3 separate regions of the Homo sapiens genome follow, and regions 2 and 3 are each linked to region 1. The links are contacts of gene promoters, found by promoter capture Hi-C in blood cells and fetal thymus (Javierre and others, 2016). All regions are on one chromosome and are shown on one strand. The core of a region is centred on a gene start or on the middle of the fragment in contact, and the rest is flanking DNA. Distances in the headings are between cores, read along the strand shown. Region 1 holds the start of CDC45 (cell division cycle 45). Region 2 overlaps HIRA (histone cell cycle regulator). Region 3 overlaps HIRA (histone cell cycle regulator).

What was found. Contacts are between HindIII fragments. The CHiCAGO score rates a contact against its expected background, and 5 or more counts as called.
Region 2: a fragment that was not itself captured here is called in contact with the fragment with the promoter of CDC45 in region 1 in 1 of 17 cell types (total B cells); the score reaches 5.2 in total B cells.
Region 3: a fragment that was not itself captured here is called in contact with the fragment with the promoter of CDC45 in region 1 in 2 of 17 cell types (erythroblasts and total CD8 T cells); the score reaches 6.0 in erythroblasts.

What each region holds. Positions count from the first base shown.
Region 1 is chr22:19,477,820-19,482,165 of GRCh38, forward strand. It overlaps CDC45 (cell division cycle 45), which reads left to right and starts at 2,101. Exons shown (of 19, transcript NM_003504.5): 1 at 2,101-2,200; 2 at 2,339-2,398; 3 at 3,134-3,226. The coding sequence starts at 2,150. It overlaps UFD1 (ubiquitin recognition factor in ER associated degradation 1), which reads right to left and starts at 1,374. Exons shown (of 12, transcript NM_005659.7): 1 at 1,264-1,374. The coding sequence starts at 1,266. RefSeq lists silencers at 1,141-1,210, 2,001-2,050 and an enhancer at 1,611-1,910. The HindIII fragment of the contact is 12,348 bases long and covers 1-4,346 here.
Region 2 is chr22:19,360,424-19,364,769 of GRCh38, forward strand. HIRA (histone cell cycle regulator) reads right to left here. Exons shown (of 25, transcript NM_003325.4): 16 at 1,304-1,508; 17 at 814-918. Among named protein-coding and RNA genes, the nearest start is that of HIRA, 69 kb to the right of the region's middle. The HindIII fragment of the contact is 4,046 bases long and covers 351-4,346 here.
Region 3 is chr22:19,388,417-19,392,762 of GRCh38, forward strand. It overlaps HIRA (histone cell cycle regulator), which reads right to left. Exons shown (of 25, transcript NM_003325.4): 9 at 3,685-3,798; 10 at 68-138. Among named protein-coding and RNA genes, the nearest start is that of HIRA, 41 kb to the right of the region's middle. The HindIII fragment of the contact is 5,446 bases long and covers 1-3,973 here.

The DNA.
Region 1 (4,346 bases), core at 851-3,350:
TCTCCCAAAATGCAAACATAGCATGTTCCCGCCTAAAATCTGGGATGGTTCTTTACTCCCTGGCACTCTAACACAGTAATTTCCAATCTTTTGTCTTTCTTCTTTTAAGCAGCATAACTGTTCAGCTAAATCTTGGCCAGAACCATAACACAGGAAATAGCGTTTCTGGGTGAACAAGGCCAGAACAGGGTAGGGGCTTGCTTCCCTTGAGTGCTTCTCACTAGCCAACCTATGTAAGCCATTTCTTCTCTTTGAATATAAAAGGTAAATCCGCACAAAGGGGCAACATACTTAACAACCTGCCTGCAGTTTACCCATGAACCCGACCTTCTGCCCCTTCTTTGCTGCTCCCGATCCCATCTCTCACTTTCCTTTTCAATCCCGAGACCTAGCACACTGCCTGGAACATATCAGGTATTCTTGAGTGGATGAACTCAAGAATAGAAATAAGCCAGGGTTTGACAGTGACACACTTGGGATAAAATCTAACAATCATTCCTTGTCTTTACTAAAATAAACAGGTGACAGGAAGACAATACCGTAGAGTGCTTTGCAGCCAGACAGACTTGGCTTCAACTCTCCAGTCCCTACTTCTGTGACTCGAATAAAGTACCTCTGTAAACGTTAGTTTTCTCATGTTTAAAATCATCATCATCCTTGCTTCCAAAGGGATTGTAGGGATTAAAAGAAATAAGCCGCGATGAGGGAGTACAGGTGTTAAAAGCTGTGTAACAGGAAATGTACCAGCAGGTATTAGCTTCCATCGTTATCATTACCGAACACAACACCGCTGTACAGATTCGAAGGCACGAACCCGTAGGCACGGAGCTCACGGAGCTGGGGCAAGAGCTGGGTGTCCCCCAAGAGCGGGGGATGCCCACTACGGATTCTCCCTGGGGAGCGCCCTGATTCTGTTCCCATCCCCAGCAACCTTGCAACTAACTTTGGGTTTATGGAAACCTGTTGCGCGTCCAGCACTTGGGAAACCCGTGAATGGACACAAACCTTCCTTTCTTTCGTCAAGGAGGGCAAGTCCGGCTGAGACAGAATGCGAGCCACGTTCAGGACCGGCGGACGCGACCACAGGCGGTTAGTGGTCAAGGGTCCTGCTTGTGCCCGGTGCGGCCGATGAGCCTGCAGGCCGGACTCAGGCCCGGGTGACTCGGCACCTCCGCCGCCGTCCCGCCCCGCCCTGCCCCGCCGGGCCCTACCTCAGGCCCCGGGCCAAGGCCCAGCCCCCGCCCGCTGCCCGTCAGCGCTTACCATGATGGACACCACCTGGCAGACTCCGCTCCTCTCAGGCAATGCAACGAAGAAACCCCGCCGACCGCTCTCCCAGCCGCCGCTGCCGCTGCCGCCGCGCCAAGCCGGTACGCCCCAGAGGCTCACCGGAAGTGCCGGACCCGAGACCCGGAGGGGGGGTGCCCGGGACAAAGCGTCGGCTGCAAAAGAGAAAAGGCCAGGCGAAGACGCTAGGCTCTAAAACACCCTCAGTAGAAGCATTAAAATGCCCTTTCGTGATTTATTTCCCCTTTTATAGGTATTTTTAAACGTTATTTTAAATTACGTGTTGACAGTATTCCCCTCCAGACGAATTTAGTAGGGCCCATTGTCCTTACGACTACACTACCCACAATGCACTACCCAGACTGCCTCTGCTTCAGCCATCGAGGACTCGGGCGGAACTAAGCTACAAATCCTTCTTCAAACCACACCAAAAACCTATTGCAAACGTAAATGCTGCCCCATTGGGTATGTGACTGAGTTTAATGTATGGTTAGAAGTATACTTTCCCTGAGGGTTCCCAGTGGGAGGCAGTAGGCTTCTCTTCCCAAAGTAAAGATGTCCGCCCAGCGTCGCTTTTCTGGGTAAAAGCGAGTCAGAGTTGAAGGGGGCAACAGTGTTTGCGTTCGGCCTCAGAGGTGACGCTTCTTTGGGGGCGGGCTGGAGTTTTCTGGCCGTGAATGGCAGAGCGCTAATGGCCGCCTCCAATGTGGCCCAATCAGAAAGAAAGGAAGGCTGGGAACTAAGAAGCTATTGGTTGGTGATCCCTGGACCAATCGGAGGAGCCGTGATTTGGCGGGAGTCTTGACCGCCGCCGGGCTCTTGGTACCTCAGCGCGAGCGCCAGGCGTCCGGCCGCCGTGGCTATGTTCGTGTCCGATTTCCGCAAAGAGTTCTACGAGGTGGTCCAGAGCCAGGTGACGCCCAGTCCGGGACCCCCGCCGAGGCCTTGCCGGTGGGGAAGGGATGAGGGGGAGCGACCGTGGGTGACCGGGAGGCAGGGGAGGGCCGGGGTTCGGGTCGCCGTGTTCAGCCGGTCTGCTCTTCCCCGATAGAGGGTCCTTCTCTTCGTGGCCTCGGACGTGGATGCTCTGTGTGCGTGCAAGATCCTTCAGGTGAGTTCTGCGGACCCTAGGAGGGCGGGGCCGGCGCGCGAGGTGAGGGTGCTGCGTGGGGGCGCAGGGCGGGCAGAGTGTCAGGATGGGTGCTGAGGGCTTAGGGTGGGAGAGGGAGCAGGGCAGGAGGTGAACAGCAAGTGAGAGGAGAGAGACTCGGAGGAGAGGTTGCCTCCCTGTCCCAACGGTGTGGGGTGGGATAAAGGATTAAGTAAAAGGTAAAGAGACTAGTTTGTATTTTTGCAATAAGCTATTAATATTAATAGGTGAACACAGCAGTTGCATTTGGGGGAAACTTTGGATCTGTCGTGGCCTCTCAAATGGGGGATTTGAGAGAGAGGAATCTGTGACAACTGTGGGTATAGTCGTGTCACAGGTGTTGCTGGGAATATGGGAGCCCCTAGTCTATTAGGGAAGATCGTTAGTTTGGTTTTGAATAGGGCATAGTATTTACGTTGTTTTGGTCAGGCCCTTGGATCAGGAACTTTTCAGAAGGCCTGGAAGTTAAATCGGCATTTCTCCCCGATGTTTTACTTTGGTAATTTGCAAAATTCACAGAATGGTATGGTAAACGCTCATATCCCTAGCACCTAGCTTTTCCCGTAAGCATTTCACTAGCTTTAATGTTATCCCGTGTCTTTTGTCTCTCAACCCGTCTAATCTTCCTCAGTTTCTTTTCAAGGTAAATTGCTAATGTCCTAAATAAGATAGGCTTTGAAAACACTCTCTCTCCAGGCCTTGTTCCAGTGTGACCACGTGCAATATACGCTGGTTCCAGTTTCTGGGTGGCAAGAACTTGAAACTGCATTTCTTGAGCATAAAGAACAGGTATTGAAGATGCGTTTTAGAATAACGTGGCTTTTTACTCAATTGTAATTTCTTGACACAGCATTCTATTTCCACGATAGATTAAGCGTGTATTTAAGTATCAGCTACATTAGGCAATATGGAAGAGAAAAACATGCTGTATTTACTGGTGACTTACCACGCCCAAGTTGTAGAAGCAAAATTGACAGCAAAAAAAGATAATGAATGTGGATAGCCCCAACTTTGAACTTGTTTTAACTTGTTTTGCAGAAATTTGATTGTAAGGTGCTTGGAATCTAGCAGTTTTTAATATGGTCTAGTTAAAATTATTTTATTTTATTTTGGTTTATTTTTTTATTTTTTATTTTTTTTGAAACGGAGTCTCGCTGTGTCGCCCAGGCTGGAGTGCAGTGGCACGATCTCGGCTCACTGCAAGCTGTGTCTCCTGGGTTCATGCCATTCTTCTGCCTCAGCCTCCTGAGTAGCTGGGACTACAGGCACCCGCCACCACACCTGGCTAATGTTTTTGTATTTTTAGTAGAGACGGAGTTTCACCATGTTAGTCAGGATGGTCTTGATCTCCTGACTTTGTGATCTGCCCACCTCCGAAAGTGCTGGGATTACAGGTATGAGCCACCACGCCCAGCCTTTATTTATTTATTTTTGAGACGGAACCTCGCTTTGTCACTCAGGCTGGAGTGTCATGGTGCAATCTTGGCTCACTGCAACCTCCGCCTTCTGGGTTCAAGCGATTCTCCTGCCTCAGCCTCCTAACTAGCTGGGATTACAAGTGCCCACCACCACGCCTGGCTAATTTTTGTATTTCTAGTAGAGACGGGGTTTCGCCACATTGGCCAGGCTGGTCTCGAACTCCTGACCTCAAGTGATCCGCCTGCCTCAGCCTCCCAAAGTGCTGGAATTAGTTAAAATTATTTTAGAATACACTACTATTTTATGTTATTTCTCTGAGAAAATGCATCCTGGTTTCCAACTTAAAATCCAGGAATAAATTTAAACAATAGATGCCAGGATTCCTCCCACCTCTGCATGGGGCCAAATGAGAGATGGGACATTGTACACCCCACAGAGAGGGGATGGGACATGGAAGAGGGTCCCTGGAGTCCCTAGCCATATCTAGGAT
Region 2 (4,346 bases), core at 1,124-3,623, 120 kb before region 1:
CCTATGGGTTCCTACCCTTTGGCTTCCCTGCTTCATTCCTCTGCACTGTGGCCCAGAAGGACCTATGGTAGGAAGGGCTGACGCCTGCTCTCTGGTGCCCTGTGAGGACCAACCTGGGCTCAGAGCAGTGTGTAGCCAGTGGGAAGTGACCCGCAAGCAGGGTCCAAGAAGGCTGCTCGAGGACACGCACCTGAGCTGAGGTACAAGGGTATGCAGAGAGGCAGCAGTGTGTGTGACGGCACCATGGCAGGAGAGGCCTAGATACTATGCTGGGCCAAGTGACCAGGAGGGCTCTGGGTATAAAGGATTATTTACTCCAGAATTGTGTTTTGGATAACCACATGCTTACAAGCTTCCATTCCAAGAGCTCAAACAACTCTGATGATTGACTGTGCCAGACACTGAGAAGACAAAGCTAGCAGGATGGTTGGGAGATAGATTATGACCACACATTCCCACAGACACCAAGCCTGAGGCTGCCCAGGGCTGTGTGTGGAGGTGGAGGTGGCTTCCAGCCAGGACACCTGAGAGGAGTCCTGAAGAGCACCAGAACATGTGGTGGTAATGGCAGCCCCAGCAGCTGGAATCCCAAGGGCAAAGCCAGACAGAGGCTATGGGTGAGTGAGAGTGGAGGCTGGCAATTTCGCTAAGAGTTGGTGGGTACCCCGATCTGCTATGACTTCTCCCAGAAGGTGATGGAGAGCCACTGGAAACCAATCTCCAAGGAAGTGACAAGATAGGATTTGTATGCAGTAGGGGACAGAGAATGTCTGGGTGTGCCTGAGGGAGAACTGGCAGGGTCCTAGAACTTACCTGGAGGGTGAATGCTCTCTGGGGGCTTGGAATTGGCAGCTTCAGTGCAAGTGCTGGTGCAGACAGACACATGGCCTCCTTCTCTGCGGTTAGGGCAGCTGGAGACTGGAAGAGCCAGAAACGTTCCTGAGCCTTGCTCTAACACTACGGGGTAGCATTTGGTAAAGGCAGGTCACCCAGAAGTGAGGCTGAGCCTGCGACCAGAGCATTTCCACCCTGGGAGGGAGGAAGCAGAGGGGAATGCTACAAGGATCCTAACCTCATGGACAAGCCAGTTGATGCCAGGGAACCTGCTCAAGGGCCCTGGGTGAGTCAAGGGCACATCTGAGGGAGAGCGTGGCCTCCATGCTACATTCCAGGGGCTGCATGTCTAAGCCAGCTGGTTCCCAAGGTGACCCACCCAGCTGAGGCTTACCATGCACACAGGGCCTTCAAGCTCTAAGTACAGAAAGGTGGGCTAAAGAAGGCAGGATGGGCCCACTGGCCTCACCTGGACAGACAGAGACACAGGCATGAGACGAGAGTCCTTCCGAGGCCGCCCTTTCTTCTTCTTCTCTACTGTCTCTACCTCAAGCTCAAGTTTTCGCTTGGACAGTGAGGAAGCCTTAGCCAAAGGGACTTTCTCATCGCTGTCACTGCTGCTCTCCAGGAGGTCTCGGGGCCTCAGCTCTTTCACAAGGTTCTGCTCTTTTAACCTGCACAAAAACATTACATCACACTTCCCTTCAGAAACCATTCATGCAAGAAAGAGTGAAGTGAAATATTTAAAGTGCTTAAACAAACCTCTTGCCAACCTAGAATTCTGTGTCCAGTGAAATTATGCCTCAAAAGTAAAGGAGAAATAATGACTTTGTCAGACAAAAATAAACAAAGAGACACCGGAATCTGTTGCCAGAAGACCTGCCTTGCAAGAAATGTTAAAAGTCTTTCAGAGAGAAGATAAATGATGCAGGCCAGAAACTCACATCTGCATGAAGAAAGGAAGAGTGATGTTAGAGAAAAAAAACAATGAACATAAAATAGAATCTTTTGTATTTCATATTCCCAACTGATCTGAGAGACAACTTTCTGTTCAAACAAATAACAGCCACCATGTCTTGAATTACTATAGTTTATGAATGAGTGAAATAAGTGGTACCAATGTCATAGGGCATGGAAGGAAAGAGTGGGGAACTCTTTCTACTACCCATGAAGTGGTATAATATTATTTGAAAGTAGAGTTAGGTTATAAATGTTTATTGTAAACTCTAGAGCAATCACTAAAAAAAATTTTTTAAAGCATAATTAATAATGCTGAGAGGAGAGAAAATTTATTTTTATTTTATTATCATTTTTTTTTTGGAGATGGATTTTCACTCTTCTCGCCCAGCCTGGAATGCAATGGTGTGATCTTGGCTCACTGCAACATCCACCTACTGGGGTCAAGTGATTCTCCTGCCTCAGTCTCCCAAGTAGCTGGGATTACAGGTGTGTGCCACCACGCCTGGTTAATTTTTGTATTATTAGTAGAGACAGGGTTTCATCATGTTGGCCAGGCCAGTCTTGAACTCCTGACCTCAGGTGACCTACCCGCCTCAGCCTCCCAAAGTGTTGGGATTATGGTCGTGAGCCACCATGCCTGGCTGAGAAAACTGAATCATATAAAATACTCAGCTAAAACCAGAGAAGGCAGAAAAAGAAGATAAAAAGAAGTGAAGATTAAAAAAAAAGAATAAGGCCGGGCACGGTGGCTCACGCCTGTAATCCCAGCACTTTGGGAGGCTGAGGTGGGTGAATCACCTGAGGTCAGGAGATTGAGACCGTCCTGGCCAACACGGTGAAACCCTGTCTCTACTAAAATACAAAAAATTAGCCGGGTGTGGTGGCGTGTGCCTGTAGTCCCAGCTACTCGGCAGGCTGAGGCAGGGCAATTGCTTGAACCCAGGAGGCAGAGGTTGCAGGGAGTCAAGATCGTGCCACTGCACTCCAGCCTGGTGACAAAGTGAGATTCCGTCTCAAAAAAAAAAACAAAAAAAACAAAAAAAAGAAATGGGTTTATGTTTTTAAAAATTTAATTTTAACTACAAAAGACAAAGACAGATTAATAGTAGGTGGACACAGTGGCTCATGCCTGTAGTCCCAGCTACTTGGTAGGCTGAGGCAGGAGGACTGCTCGAGCCCAGAGGCTTGAGAGCAGCCTGGGCAAAATAATGAGACCCCATCTCTAAGAACAAAAAATAAGTAAATAAATAAATACAAGAAAAGGGGTGATTCTAACTATATGACAACCTGGAACAGGCAAAACCATGGAGACAATAAAAAGATCAGTGGTTTCCAGGGGTTGGGGAAAGGAAGGTAACTATATGAAGCACAGAATTTTTAAGGCATTGAAACTATTCTGGCTGGGTGTGGTGGCTCTTTCCTGTAATTCCTACACTTTGGGAGGCCAAGGTGGGCAGATCACTTGAGGTCAGGAGTTTGAGACTGGCCTGGCCAACATGGTGAGACCCCATCTCTACTAAAAATACAAAAATTAGCCACGTGTGGTGGCATACACATGTAATCCCAGCTACCTGGGAGGCTGAGGTAGGAGAATTGCTTGAACCTGGGAGGCGGAGGTTGCAGTGAGCCGAGATGCGACTGTGCCACCGCACTCCAGCCTGGGCAATAGAGCGAGACTCTGTCTCGAAAAAACCCAAAAAACTATTCTGTAAGATATATAATGATGAATATATGTCATTATACATTGGTTAAACCCGTAAAACGTACAACATCAAGAGTAGACCCAAATGTAAACTTTGGGTGACGGTGTGCCCCACTCTGGTGGGGGATGCTGAAAGTGGGGGATGCTATGGGTATGTTGGGGAGGCGGGCATGTGGGAACTCTTTGTATTTCCTGTTCAATTTAGCTGTGAACCTAAACTGCTCTAACAAATAAAGTCTATTAAAAAAAAAAAGCGAGGACTGGAGAAAGACATGCCATGATAACACTAATCAAAAAAAGGTGGTGTAGTTACGTAAGCAAAGCAGGCATCAGAGACAGTAAAGTTATCAAGGATAAAGAGGGACATTACACAGTGATAAAGATGAAGGAGTCAATTCTTCAAGAAGACAGAACAATTCTGAATAAGTACACAGGCATACCTTGTGTTATTGTGCTTTACTTCACTGTGCTTCGCAGAGACTATGTTTTTTTTACAAGTTGAAGGTTTGTGGCAACCCTGCATCAAGCAAGTCTATTGGCGCCATTTCCCCAACAGCAGGTGCTCATTTCGTGTCTCTGTGTCACATTTTGATAATTCTCACAATATTTCAAACATTTTCATTCTTATTGTATCTGTTTTGGTGATCTGCCATTAGTGATCTTTCATGTTAGTATTATAACTGTTTTGGGGCACTGTGAACCACACCCATGTAAGATGCTGAACTTAATCAATAAATGGCGTTTATGTTCTGACTGCTCCACCAACTGGTTGTTCTCCTGTCTCCCTTCCTCTCCCCAGGCCTCCCTATTATCTGAGACAAAACAATATTGAAATTAGGCCAATCGATAA
Region 3 (4,346 bases), core at 1-2,500, 90 kb before region 1:
AGGCCTCATGTTCCAATGTGTGGCTTCTCCTTTCTTAACCTATTCCTGTAAGTAGAATCCACCTTACCAGGAAATATCCATGATGGATTTGTCAAACAGTTCATGGATGACCACCAGCGGCCGTTTCAGACATGTGAGCTGGAAGGAAAGACACAGTCAAGGTTAATGAAATTACTGAAATCCCCTTCTGTATTCAGCTCAGTTAACATAACCAACCTAGAAGCCTGGGTCAAAGTGGCTGCTGATATTTAAGGCATCTTCAACTCTATTCAAACTGCAGCTGCAGAGATCCCAAACTGTGGGAACCAAAGCCTGCCAAAAATGTGCATGCTACCTAGAGTGGACCCTGCCTCCAGGGCTTGCTGTGGTCTGACAGGGGAAATAGCTTTATACACAGATAACTAGCAACAGAGAAGGCAGAGTGGGAGTGGGTTTCTGAAGGGCTATGGTCGGAGGAGAGGGACAGCCCCAGGGTGGACCTCTGAGAGGGTCTATGGAGCAGGAGACACGATGCCAAAGCCTAGACAGGGGATGAGGCACCCTGAGAGAGAACACAACACATCTTCCCTGGGCCCAAGGGACTCTGGTACACATTTATCCAAGGCTCATTCTACACTATGTGTAGGTAGTACAGAAATACACACCTGGGCCCTTAATCTGGGCCTAGTTACCGACTATTAATACTTTGATGAATTATTATCTTCTATTTTGTGCAAATATTTATTTTATTCTTCAAAGTAAGAATTTATTTTATTCTTCATAGTTGTGTCTGTTTTTTCATTTAACACACAATAAGTATGTCATTAAATATCCTGTAAAAGTCTCTTCTGGATGACTGCATAGCATGCACTGTGCATATTCTCTATCGAGTCACTCAATTGCTGGCATACACTCTGACTCCACGTTCCCACAACTATGGTAGGCCTTTCCACTTGTGCACAAGTGCCTGGCTACCCTGCTGGCTGGCCCTGAACTGCAGGACAATGGGCAGGGAAGAAACACACTTCCTCACGGGATGGTGGGCTCCCATAGGTGCTGCTGCAGCTTCTGGGAGGCTGTGGGGCTGAGCGTCCCAGTGCAGCCTGAGACTGCTATGTGGGGAAGGAGAAGCTGTGTCTACCCTAGTGGTGGAGAGGGGGCTGAAGTCTGAACGATCTGGAACCCACATTAAGAATCTCGCCTCCACCTTAATTCCACTTCTAGAAAAAGCTGCCTTGTCCCTCCTCTCATAAATGTGCCTACAGACCCCTCAGAAATCTACAGGCCGTGTGACTGCCTAACCTGAGCATTCTAAGAAATATGGGCATCACAGTCAGTGATGTTTTGGTTGCAGCGCCACAAACAGGGCCTCTGGCTGGGAGGAAACAGGGAAGGTCCCCTGAACGGCAATCTGTGGTACTGTGGTTCAGGTTCCAGAATGGGTGTTAAGTGAATACTTGGCCTAAAAAAAAAAAAAAAAATCACAACGCACACAGTAATATATTTCTCTATACCAAACTAATAAATGCAGCCAGAGGATAACCTTCAAACCCAGAACTTCCAACTTGCTCTGCTTATAGGGACACTTTTTTACAAAATGAAAAAAAAAAAAAATTAATGTGTGTGCACTTTGCTTTATCAAACTTTAAATATATTGGCACCTTGATGCTCAGCACCAAGACTGCTCCCTGCACTGCATGCGGAGGTGTCTCTTACCACACAGTCAGGTCACAGCACACCAGCCCCTGGCAGTGAGAAACTTAACCCTTCAGGAGCCCTCACTTAGAAACCGCCACAGTTCTTACCCTTGGGTTCTCACTCGCCAACTACCATTGAGTATATCTGCTGAGAACCTGCTCTGTAGAGGGCACTGAGTTAGGAAGGTGAGGGGAACAATGAAACTGAAGACACATCGGGCTGGGTGTGGTGGCTCACACCTGTAATCCCAGTACTTTGGGAGGCCAAGGCGGGCGGATCACCTGAGGTCAGGAGTTTGTGACCAGCCTGGACAACATGGTGAAACCCCATCTTTACTAAAATTACAAAAAAATTAACCGGGTGTGGTGGCCTGTAATCCCAGCTATTCAGGAGGCTGAGGCAGGAGAATCTCGCTCGAACCCAGGAGGCAGAGGTTGCAGTGACTCAAGAAGCCAAGATTGCACCACTGCACTCCAGCCTGCTGGGCAATAGAGGGAGACTCTGTCTCAAAAAAAAAAAAAAAAAAAAAAAAAAGAAGCTGAAGACATCGCCTCATCTCAGGGGATCCAGCGAGTGAGGAGTACTAGGCTCACAACCTTACCCATCACAGCATCACCCAGGGGTGAAATGGACTAATAGAGGCGTCAGCTTTCTGTGTGTCTTTTTCTGTGGACATAAGCACTTATCTGTCTTGGTTGTATGCCTAGGAGTGGAAGTGCTCTAGGTCATATGCTTAGCTGTGGTAGAAACTGCCAGACAGTTTTCCCAAGTGCTCATGCCAGCGTAAACACCTGTCAGCAACACGTGTCAGCAATGTATCAGTTCCAGCTTATCATGTCCTTGCTGACACTTGGTACTATTTTTTTGTTTTTTTTTTTAATTTTAGAACTCTACTCATAGGTATGTACTCATAAATGAAAACGTACATCCACATAAAGACTTATACAAGAATGTTCATATCAGCTTTAGTCATAATATCTCAAAACTGGAACAATCTTAATGTCCATCAACAGGAGACTGTATAAACAAATTGTGGTGTATTCATACAGTGGAATGCTACACCGAAATTATAAGGAATAAAATACTGTTAAGTGCAGCAACATACACGAATCTCAAAAACACTGTGCCAAGCAAAAGAAATGAAGACACAAAGAAGCAAGTACCACACAATTGCATTTATATGAAGTTCAAGAGCAGGCAAAACTCATCAGTGTAACAGAGGCCATTAGAGTGGTTGCTTTGGTGGTGAGGGAGGTCTTGACTGGGGAGGGACAAAGGGACAAAAAGGAGTGCTCTAGGCAGTGATGACACTGGTGTGTAAACATGTATGACAACTCACCAAACTGTACCTTTCAGGTGAATACACTTTATATAAAGATTTTTCTTTTTCTTTTTTTTTTTTTTTTGAGACGGAGTCTCGCTCTGTTGCCCAGGCTGGAGTGCAGTGGCGCGGTCTCAGCTCACTGCAAGCTCTGCCTCCCAGGTTCACGCCATTCTCCGTCTCAGCCTCCCGAGTAGCTGGGACTACAGGCGCCCACCACCACGCCCAGCTAATTTTTTGTATTTTTAGTAGAGACGGGGTTTCACTGTGTTAGCCAGGATGGTCTCGAACTCCTGACCTTGTGATCCGCCCACCTCGGCCTCCTAAAGTGCTGGGATTACAGGCGTGAGCCACCGCGCCCAGCCATATAAAGATTTTTCTAATAGGAAGCAAGCCCAACATGCTGCTCATGGCATTGACCACTGAGGGTGCTGCCTGAGTCTGGACACAAGAGCTGGTCTAGGTGGGGGTCAAGGTGGCCTCTCCTGGCTGGGCACAGACCCAGTCTTCAGCACTTCCTTCTGGGAGAGCAGGAGAGCCTGTGAGCTTCCAAGGAGGGGCTGACCCCAGGTGCAGAATAGAAATACACTCTTAGCATCACCCAAAGCAGGTCTCTTTCCTCCACTTGCTACTTTACCAACCTACACCTCCCGTCCTGCAACAAAAGCTCAGGATAGCAGGCTCACCCAGACAGAAAGCGAGCGGTCCTTGCTGCCAACAGCACAGCAGCAGTACGGGCAGCTAGGCTTCGCAGAACTCCCATTCTTCTGCTTCTTTTTGAAGATTTTTGGGTTGAATTTCTAAAGCCAAATAACAGATGTTAAAAATAATTAATCAAGCATCAGGCATGTCCCCTGTGCCCAAGTCCCAGCCCACTGAAGGGAGTCTCCCACAGACATTCTCTGAGCCCAGGCACTGAGCATGCATTTCATCTTCCCGACCACCTATGAGGCATCTGGCTGATGATGGAAAGGAAGCTTAGGGAGGTCAGAAAGTATGTGCGGAGGCACCAAATGAGTAAGCTGGGAAATGCAGATTTGAAACTAGAGCTACCAAACTCTCCATTTCTGGAGCTTGCCAAGTAGAAGGGATGCGTAGCTACTGAAACTAGCCTTCTCAATTCCCTCTGGCCAGGCAGGGCCAGCCCTAGGACCTGCAGAAAAGCTGAGCCTGCAAGGGGGCTTCAGAAACAAAGACCTACTCACTCCCTATCTCCTAAGGGAGGCCAAGGGGATGGGCAGGAGGGGTGTGAATCTCTGAATTCCTTATTGCCTCACTGCATTTGTTGTTCAGTCATAACCGTCTAGCAGAGATCTGCTCAGTCAGAGAGTCATTTGTGATCTCCCTG